2 separate regions of the Homo sapiens genome follow, and region 1 is linked to region 2. Evidence: promoter capture Hi-C in 16 types of primary human blood cells and fetal thymus (Javierre and others, 2016). All regions are on one chromosome and are shown on one strand. The core of a region is centred on a gene start or on the middle of the fragment in contact, and the rest is flanking DNA. Distances in the headings are between cores, read along the strand shown.

Region 1 (4,379 bases), core at 1-2,500, 140 kb before region 2:
GGGATCTCTGGGCCACTGCCCTCACCTGGGGTCCTCAGTCCACATCCCCAGGCGCTTCAGCACCTCTGTGGTAGCCATCTCGCGGTTGAGGGTGTAGAAGTGGAGGCCTGGCACCAAGCCACTGGCCAGAAGCTCCTGGCACAGGCTCACGGCCAGCTCGATGCCATAGTTGCGGATGGCAGCATCGTTGTCTTTGATTGGCTCAATCACGTCCTTGATCTCCTGTGGCACCTCCAGCTTGGACAGCTTCACAAGCTGCCGAAGGGAGTGGTAGCCCTGTCCAAGACATGAGGGGCTGTGGCGGCTGCTGGCCAGCCCGTCTCCCACCCTAAATACTTCTCCCCCTTCCATCATCCATGCCAACCACAGTGTCAGGCAGAGGGACCCACGAAAGTCCGATCATATTCTAGGAGCACACCTGGGCTTGGCCTGCCGTTTTCTCCTCTTTTTTCTGTTTTTAGAGACTGAGTCTCACTGCTCTCAAACGCCAGGGCTCAAGCCATCCTCCTGCCTCAGCTTCTCAAGTAGCCGGGACTACAGGCACGTGCCACTATGCCCAGCTTTCCCACTTTTTACAGAGTAGAGCAGCTGCCCTAAGCATTCCAGCCTTGGGTTGAGCCAGCCTTTTAGCCCTAGATGTGTCTGTTGGTAACATGGTGTCATCTAACCCAGCTGTTCCCATGCTGCACTGATCATCCGAATCACCTGCCAAGCTCAAGAAGTAAAACACACATTCCGAGGACCTCCCTCAGATTTACTGAGTGAGAACCTCCAGGGGTGGGACCTGGAGATCCACTTTTTGAAAAAGCTTATCAAGTGGTTCTGATGACAGCCACCTTTGGGAAACACTGATTTAAGCAGGATTTGTAATGAGAATTAGAATCCCTTTTGGTGATGCTTGTTGGCCAAAGTACAACAAACCCCTCAACAGACACTGTTGCTGGGTTTTGGGGGGAAAATTAGAGGTAACCAAAATGGGGTGGCCAAGCAACGCTGTGCAAGTTCTGGACCTGAGAGGAGATCTGGGAAGAACTCAGCGAACTCAGCACTCCACCCAGAGCCCCCAGCCTGTGCGAGGACGGTGCGGTGAGAGTGGGGTGGAGGGAGCTTATGGGCTCTCCTGGGCCCCTCACCTGGATGGGAAAGATCCCGGGGACGATGGGGCAAGTGATGCCCATGTCGGTGCATGCCTTCACAAAGCGGAAGAATGTGTCAGCCTCAAAGAAAAGCTGCGTGATGATGAAATCGGCTCCCGCAGACACCTTCTCCTTCAAGTGCTTCAGGTCAGCCTCAAAGCTCCCTGCTTCGGGGTGGCCTTTGGGGTAACCTGCCAATAGGGATGACAGTCAGGAGAGGCTGGCCTCCACCTGTTCAAGGCGAGGGATGAAGAGACCACAGGGACTGGGCAGAGAGAGTCCTCTGCTTTGGGGGCTCTGATCTTGCACCTTCCAACAGCACAGCACAGCCTGAACTAAAACAGTGAGTGGCTGGGCTCATGACTGATATGCTTCTGACCCCAGAGATGACTCTCAGGGGAGGTGGCTCAGAGCCCAGTTCCAAGAGTGGGGGTGGATTGCTCCAAACTCCCACACTGTCCTGCCTTGAGCAGCCAAGCAAATCAGGCCTGCACTTGGTGGCCATAGAAAAGAGAAAATGCTACAGTTAGCACTGGCTGGGCAGCATCTGGGGTAGTAAGCTTGACTTTTCTCTAGGCACCGGATTAAACATTGTTTTTAATGTAACACTGAAATTACTCAGGGGTCCAAGATAGTGAAAAGCTAAAAACCAAGTTACACAAGGAAGAACTGAAGAAAGTGATGTTTTCTTCAAAGAAAATAATGGATGGCAGGGTGCGGTGGCTCATGTCTGTAATCCCAGCACTTTGGGAGGCCAAGGCAGGAGGATGACCTGAGGTCAGGAGTTCGAGACCAGCCTGGCCAACATGGTAAAACCCCGTCTCTACCAAAAATACAAAAATTAGCCAGGTGTGGTGGTGTATGCCTGTAATAGCTACTCAGGAGGCTGAGTCAGGAAAATTGCTTGAACCCACGAGACAGAGGTTGCAGTGAGCCGAGATCGTACCATTGCACTCTAGCCTGGGCAACGAGAGCGAAACTCCGTCTCAAAAAAAAAAAAAAAAAAAAGAATGAAAAGAATACAGAAACTCCTTTCAAATGTCCAAAGGTCTGTCCTGGGGAAAAAGGATCCACCATAGGTGAGTTTGTTTTGTTTTGTTTCAGAGACAGGGTCTTGCTCTGTCACCCAGGCTAGAGTGCAGTGATACAATCATGGCTCACTGTAGCCTTGAACTCCCGGGCACAAGTGATCTCCCACTTCAGTCTCCTGAGTAGCTTGGACTACAGATGCAAGCCACCACATCTGGCTAATTAAAAAAAATTTTTTTAATTAATTATTTATTTTTTAGAGATGGGGTCTTGCTATCTTGTCCAGGTTTGTCTGGAACTTCTGGGCTCAAGCAATCCTCCCACCTTGGCCTCCCAAAGTGCTGAGATTACAGGCATGAGCCACTGTACCCAGCCCCCTAGTGAAGTTCTTTATTAGTCATATTCTGTGTTGTTTCTAATGGCAGAACCAGCATCCGGTTCAGAGAGCTGGCTAGAGTACTATAAGCCACTCACAAAACAATGAGCTCCTGGAGTCTGAAAACACAGGGGCAGTGGATGCTGAAGACAAGATTCCAGAATTGCTTAGGAGGTGGGATCAGATGTCCCATAGGCTCCTTACTGGCTCTGTGAACTCTCTGACCCCTTTCCTCAATGACTAAACTTACTAGCCGCCTTGCTCGGTCAGGCAAGCAGGATGACCATAGGCCTTCATGAAACTACATGGAGTGCTGGTTTCATCAGCCCAAGCCCAGGGCAGGACTCTGAGCCAGGCGGAAGGCCAAGCTGCTTTGCTCTGATAAGGCAGTTCCGTTCTTAAGAAACCCAGAGTCATCAAAAAATGAATATAAAAACTATTGTTTCAAGGGGTAAGGGAGTGGGGGATAAAGCAATGGGGCTTCACACTTGCAATAACAAAGCTATTTTCCCAGTAGGAATTTCAGAAACAACAAGGCTTTTTAATAGCTGAAAAGTATAGCTACAATACCTAAATATCACCGAACAAATCTAGCATTTGATTACGTATAGATTTTGCTATTTACTCTATTTTTCTATCATGAACAGCTGAGGGCTTTCTTTTTTAAAATGTTTTTATTTTTTGTAGAGACACGGTCTCACTGTGTTGCCCAGGCTGGTCTTGATCTCCTGCCTCAGTCTCCCAAAGCTCTGGGATTACAGGCATGAGCTACCATGCCCAACAGGTTGGTGTTTTCTAATCCACTCATCTTCATTACCCACTTGATAAGCAAAGTAAGAAACCATTCAGCAACTGTGAGCTCACAGCTTCACTAGTTTCCAATCATTATCACCTAACGCCCATCACGGGTGCATATTCCCCCAGTAACTGACTATATAATGGCTGATACAAGCGATGACAATTTAACAGTTGGAAATGTCTGTTCTCTGACTCCTAATCAGTGCTTCCCAGACTTAGCACCTAAACACCCCTGTTGACAGAATGGACATGTCCATCGGGGGTTAGGGACAAGGCCAAAGTTACTCACAACATGTAATTTTCTTGAAGCCACGTGGTTTGTTTTTTGGGTTTTTTGTTTTGTTTTTTTTGAGACGGAGTCTGGCTCTGTTGCCCAGGCTACAGTGCATTGGTGCGATCTCGGCTCACTGCAAGCTCCGCCTCCTGGGTTCAAGCGATTCTCCTGCCTCAGCCTACCAAGTAGCTGGGACTACAGGCACGCGCCACCATGCCCGGCTAATTTTTGTATTTTTAGTAGAGACGGGGTTTCACTATGTTGGACAGGATGGTCTCAAACTCCTGATCTCATGATCCACCCGCCTTGGCCTCCCAAAGTGCTGGGATTATAGGCTTCAGCCACCGCACCTGGCCTTTTTTTTTTAGTTCATATCACTTTAGATGCTACTCCATAACATAGCCATGTTTAATATAAAAATGGTAGGATTTCTCCCAGAATATTGGCAAAAAAACTGTCATCCCAGAAAATGTGCCAATCCCGGGACTTCCTGTCCCTGGTGCACACTGTCTTGCCATACCTGAGCGCTGTCTGAGACGCTGAGGGCTCAATGCCAGCCTTCAGCTTCAAGGGTGGGAGAGAAGTCCAACCCACCCATTTCTGTTGGGGGAACCTGGTCTTGTGGCTGTGGCCAATGGTGATTCTCTTTCCTGGGAATTTGGAACGGAGGCCTGTCCATTAGCCTGGGGAACTGGCTGGAACTGACACTCTGCACACTCAGGAGCAGGCCAGGTGTGTGGAAAAGCATGGGTATCAGGTCTCCCAG
Region 2 (5,332 bases), core at 2,108-4,607:
TGCTGCCCCATGCCTATGGATATCACTTGTGCTATCTGTGCAATGAGCACATCTCCATACAATGAGATGATTTCCACACAATGAGATGATTTCCAAGGTTCCCAGTGACTGACTCTATCTTTGTTTTTTTAATAGAGATGGGGGAAGGGTTTTGCTATAGTGTCCAGGCTGGTCTGGAACTCCTGGGCCCAAGCAGTCCTCCTGCCTTGGCCTCCCGAAGTGCTGGGATTACAGGCATGAGTCTCTGTGCCGGCCTGGACCTATATTCTAAAAATAGCATGTATTGATTTTGTTTGAATATATATATATATTTTTTCAAGACGGAGTTTTGCTCTTGTTGCCCAGGCTAGAGTGCAATGGTGCGATCTCGGCTCACTGCAATCTCCGCCTTCCAGGCTCAAGAAATTCTCCTGCCTCAGCCTCCCAAGTAGCTGGGATTACAGGAATGCGCCACCATGCCCAGATAATTTTGTATTTTTGGTAGAGACAGGGTTTCTCCATGTTGGTCAGGCTGGTCTTGAAATCCCGACGTCTGGTGATCTGCCTGCCTCCACCTCCCAAAGGGCTGGTATTACAGGCATAAGCCACCATGCCCCGCCGATTTTGTTTGAATTTTACAAATAGTATATATTTATTGAAAAAAAAAGAAAAATATAAATAACAAAATAAATACTTGGAAATAATATAAAACATCAAAAATTGTCTATATAAATATGAAATAATCCCACAACCTGGAAATAATCACAGTAAATATTTGGCCATAATTTTCTCCTAGCATTGTCTCTATGCATGTATACATCGATAAGAATATATTTTTGGCTGGGCGCGATGGCTCACGCCTATAATCCCAACACTTTGGGAGGCCGAGGCTGGTGGATCACGAGGTCAGGAGTTCAAGACCAGCCTGGCCAAGATGGTGAAACCTCATCTCTACTAAAAATACAAAAATGAGCCAGGCATGGTGGCAGGCACCTGTAATCCCAGCTACTCGGAAGGCTGAGGCAAAGAATTGCTTGAACCAGGGAGGCGGAGGTTGCAGTGAGCTGAGATTGTGCCACTGCACTCCAACCTGGGCTATACAGTGAGACTCCATCTCAAAAAAAAAAAAAAAGAAGGTATTTTTACTGAGTGGAACCATACTATATATTCTGCTTTTCCACTTAACATCATATGGGTAGTGTATTTCTCTGGCTGCAGCATCTGAATGCTATTTTGTTTTTATTTTTATTTTTTGGTTTGTTTGTTTTTTTTGAGGCAGGTTCTGACTCTCTTGCCCAGGCTGGAGTGCAGCGGTGTGATCATGGCTCACTGCAACCTCCACCTCCCGGGCTCAAGTGATCCTCCCCAGTCAGCCTCCTGAATAGCTGGGACTACAGGCACATGCCACCATGCCCAGCTAATTTTTGTTTTTTTAGTAAAGAAGGGGTTTCACCATGTTGCCCAGGCTGGTCTTGAATTCCTGGGCTCAAGCAATCTGGCTGTCTTGGCCTCCCAAAGTACTGGGATTACAGGCATGAACCACCGCACCCAGCTCATCTGAATGCTGTTGATTTATTAATATCTTTTCCCAGCACAGACGCATAGCCTGCTCTTTGTCGTCCATTGACATTCGTGACATTCCTTCTCTCCCACCCCTTTGCCCCCTGCAGGGAACCCCCTGCCAGCCTAGGGTTACACCTGCCACCCACTCCTCTGGAGCCTAATCAGCTGGGAGAAGGCTCCTGGGTCCCTGTCTAAGGTCTTTTTTTTCTTTTTTTTTTTTTTTGAGACAGAGTTTCGCTCTGTCGCCTAGGCTGGAGTGCAGTGGTTCAATCTTGGCTCACTGCAAACTCAGTCTCCTGGGTTCAAGTGATTCTACTGCCTCAGCCTCCTGAGTAGCTGGGATTACAGGCGCGCGCCACCACGCCTGGCTAATTTTTGTATTTTAGTAGAGACAGAGTTTCACCATGTTGGTCAAGCTGGTCTTGAACTCCTGACCTTGTGATCCGCTCGCCTCAGCCTCCCAAAGTGCTGGGATTACAGGTGTGAGCCACCGTGCCCGGCCTCTGTCTGAGGTTTCTTCCAAGGAAGGAAGGATTTTTGTTCAGAGGTGGCTGCCCCTGTCTGACATCTGGTCCAGGAGCCCTTACTCTAGAGACCGTTGAGTTGTTTGTTGGGCTTTGGGTATCTGTGAAGAGGCCCTAAAAACTTTCATCGATTCGTTTACTCATTTAACAATTAATCTCTCTAGGGTGTGGTGGCTCAGCCTGTAATCCCAGCACTTTGGGAGGCCAAGGCGGGTGGATCATCTGAGGGTGGGAGTTCAAGACCAGCCTGACCAACATGGAGAAACCCCACCTCTACTAAAAATACAAAATTAGCTGGGCATGGTGGCACATGCCTGTAATCCCAGCTACTCGGGAGGCTGAGGCAGGAGAATTGCTTGAACCCGGGAGGCGGAGGTTGCCGTGACCCCAGATCTCGCCGTTGCACTCCAGCCTGGGCAACAAGAGTGAAACTCTGTCTCAAAAAAAAGGTAGAAAAATTAGCCAGGGATGGTGGCTCAGGCCTGTGATCCCACCTACTTGGGAGGCTGAGATGGGAGGATCGCTTGAGCCCGGGAGGTCGAGGCTGCAGCAAGCGGTGATCACGCCACTGCACTCCAGCCTGGGCAACTGAAAGCAACCTTGTCTCAAAAAAATGAAAAAAAAAAAACAAAAAACAAAAAAACCTCAGAAGCAAGACTTTCCTTGGCTCAGAGGTTTGCCTCCCAGGGACACAAAGGGAGATCAAGTGATTGCCTTTTGGGGAGAGTGGAGACGGGCTTCCTGCATTTCCAGTGCCTGGGTGGGCCACGTAGGGGTGTCCGTGTCTCTGAACGCATCCGTGCCCACCCTCACCCCTTGGGTTTTGGGAAGGACTAATGAAATCATGAAAACTGACTTCCTTGGGGCTTGACCTGGGGCTGCTCTAAGTGCGCTACAGGTAACGCCATTAACCCGTGCAAGACCCAATGAACAGACGCTATCATAAGCCCCACTTTTCAGGCGAGCAAACAGGGGCTCGTGGCTATCGATGCCATGGAGCCTTGGCCCAGAACCTGGGGTCTAGAAATCGTGGCCTCTCTCTCCTCTCACCGCCCTCTTTCTGGTCGGAGTGAACCCCCCAGAGAAGGGAGGGAGACGGCAGGGCCTGACGGAAGCCCCGGGAGCTGCACAGAGAGGCGGAGGGAGCTGCCCTAATAAGGAGAGGCCCGGACTTGGGCATATCTGCAGAAAAACCCTTCCCCACTAGGCAGGCGCGGGGGAGGGCGTGGAGGGGCGGGGTGGTGCCGCCCCCGGGGCGGGCCCAGTGCGTGGCAGCGGGACCTGCGGCCCCGTCGCGAAGTTTCCAGCCCTGCGAGCGCCGCCGGGTCGGCCGATCGTCCCCCATACCTCGGCCATGCGGCCCCTGCTGCTACTGGCCCTGCTGGGCTGGCTGCTGCTGGCCGAAGCGAAGGGCGACGCCAAGCCGGAGGGTGAGGGAGCGAAGGCCGGGGGCGGGAGCGCGGATCCGGGCGGGAGGGCTGGTGTCGGGCTGCCTCCCTGGGAACGACCTGAATGGGAGGCCTGGGCTGGAGAGGGAGTCTGGGTTCCGGCTCCTTGTCCACTTAATCGCTGGTGACTTGAACAAATCACTTCCCCTCTTGGGGCTGCGGTTCCTGCTTCGGGAAGGAAAGGGTGACAGCTGAGTCCCATTCAGCACAGAAAGGCTCAAATAATAATAGTTTTCATAATAATAACCGACAATGGCTATTCTGCCCAGTGCTCACTATGGGCCAGGCATCAGTTAGGCATGATTGCTACCCTGGTAAGTGTTTCCTTCTATTATCCCCGTTTTCCAGCTGGGCAAACTGAGGCTCCAGAGTTCATTCACTTGCCCAAGATCATACAACTTGTGGGCCTTGGAACCAGGATTTACCCCACCCACCCAGGTGTCTGGTTCCAGAGCCAGGAGGCCTCATGACCATGGGAATGAGGGGTCTTGAGGGGGACAGGGGAGGAATGGGGGTAGAAGGTGTGGCTCACTTTGTGGATAAGTTTGTGCTTTCATCCATGTCCCCTGTGGTCTGCTTAGCCCCTGCCAGGGTGGTCTTCCTCTCTGCAGTTTATTTTTTTTATTTTACTTAATGTATTATTTATTTAGTTATTTATTTATTTTTGAGACAGAGTCTTGCTCTGTCGCCCAGGCTGGAACGCAGTATGCGATCTCGGCTTACTGCAACCTCTGCCTCCCAGGTAAAAGCAATTCTTTTTTTTTTTTTTGAGATGGAGTCTCGCTCTGTCGCCCAGGCTGGAATGCAGTGGCACAATCTCAGCTCACTGCAACCTCCACCTCCCAGGTTCAAGTGTTTCTCCTGCCTCGGCCTCCCAAGTAGCTGGGATTACAGGCACGTGCCACCATGCCTAGCTAATTTTTGTATTTTTAGTTGAGATGGGGTTTCACCATGCTGGCCAGGCTGGTCTTGAACTTCTGACCTCTTGATCCGCTGGCCTCAGCCTCCCAAAATGTTTGGATTACAGGCGTGAGCCATCGCGCCCGGCCGGTTCAAGCGACTCCTGTACCTCAGCCTCCCAGGTAGGTGGGATCACAGACATGTGCCACCATGCCCAGCTAATTTTTGTATTTTTGGTGGAGATGGGGTTTCACCATGTTGGCCAGGCTGGTCTTGAACTCTTGACCTCAGGTGATCAGCCCACCTTGGTCTCCCAAAGTGTTGGGATTACAGGCGTGAGCCACCACACCTGGCCCTCTCTGCAGTTTATACTTGAGGAAACTGAGGCCCAGACAGGTGAAGTGACTGTCCAGGGTGGTCCAGACAGAGGTGGTTGGTCCGAGGTCAGCTGGGCTCCAGTCTAGCGCTCTTTCTACTTCCTCAAGGCAGATTGGATTGCAGTGTGTGCCCCACTGTCCTGAGTGGGTGCTTCCCTCCTCCCCAGCCCTCCCTGGCATGGGCCATCTCCAGGGCTGTCCCGAGAAGGGCATAGACTGCGGACAGTCCCAGCAAAGCCAAGCAGAAGTGGCGGTACTTTCCATGGCATTCTCCTCCTTCAGCTTACCCTCCTGGAGAACCTGAAACTGTATCACCAGAAGGATCCCGGGTTCTTTGGGTCAGGAATGGGAACCACCATTTATTTTATTTTATTTATTTAATTTTTTTTTGAGACAGTGTTTCACTGTGTCCCCCAGGCTGGAGTGCAGTAGCATGACCTTGGCTCACTGCAACCTCTGTCTCCTGGGTTCAAGCAATTCTCGTGCGTCAGCCTCCCAAGTAGCTGGGATTACAGGCCTGCACCACCACGCCCAGCTAATT

Evidence for each region. The method cuts DNA at HindIII sites, captures the fragments that hold promoters and counts their contacts. A CHiCAGO score of 5 or more calls a contact.
Region 1: a fragment that was not itself captured here is called in contact with the fragment with the promoter of PLOD1 in region 2 in 1 of 17 cell types (neutrophils); the score reaches 5.3 in neutrophils.

Annotation. Positions count from the first base shown.
Region 1 is chr1:11,795,073-11,799,451 of GRCh38, forward strand. MTHFR (methylenetetrahydrofolate reductase) reads right to left here. Exons shown (of 12, transcript NM_005957.5): 5 at 1,134-1,327; 6 at 26-276. Among named protein-coding and RNA genes, the nearest start is that of MTHFR, 8.7 kb to the right of the region's middle. The HindIII fragment of the contact is 888 bases long and covers 807-1,694 here.
Region 2 is chr1:11,931,360-11,936,691 of GRCh38, forward strand. PLOD1 (procollagen-lysine,2-oxoglutarate 5-dioxygenase 1) reads left to right here and starts at 3,358. Exons shown (of 19, transcript NM_000302.4): 1 at 3,358-3,496. The coding sequence starts at 3,421. RefSeq lists enhancers at 2,141-3,066, 2,897-2,946, 3,067-3,990 and a silencer at 3,167-3,636. The HindIII fragment of the contact is 16,832 bases long and covers 1-5,332 here.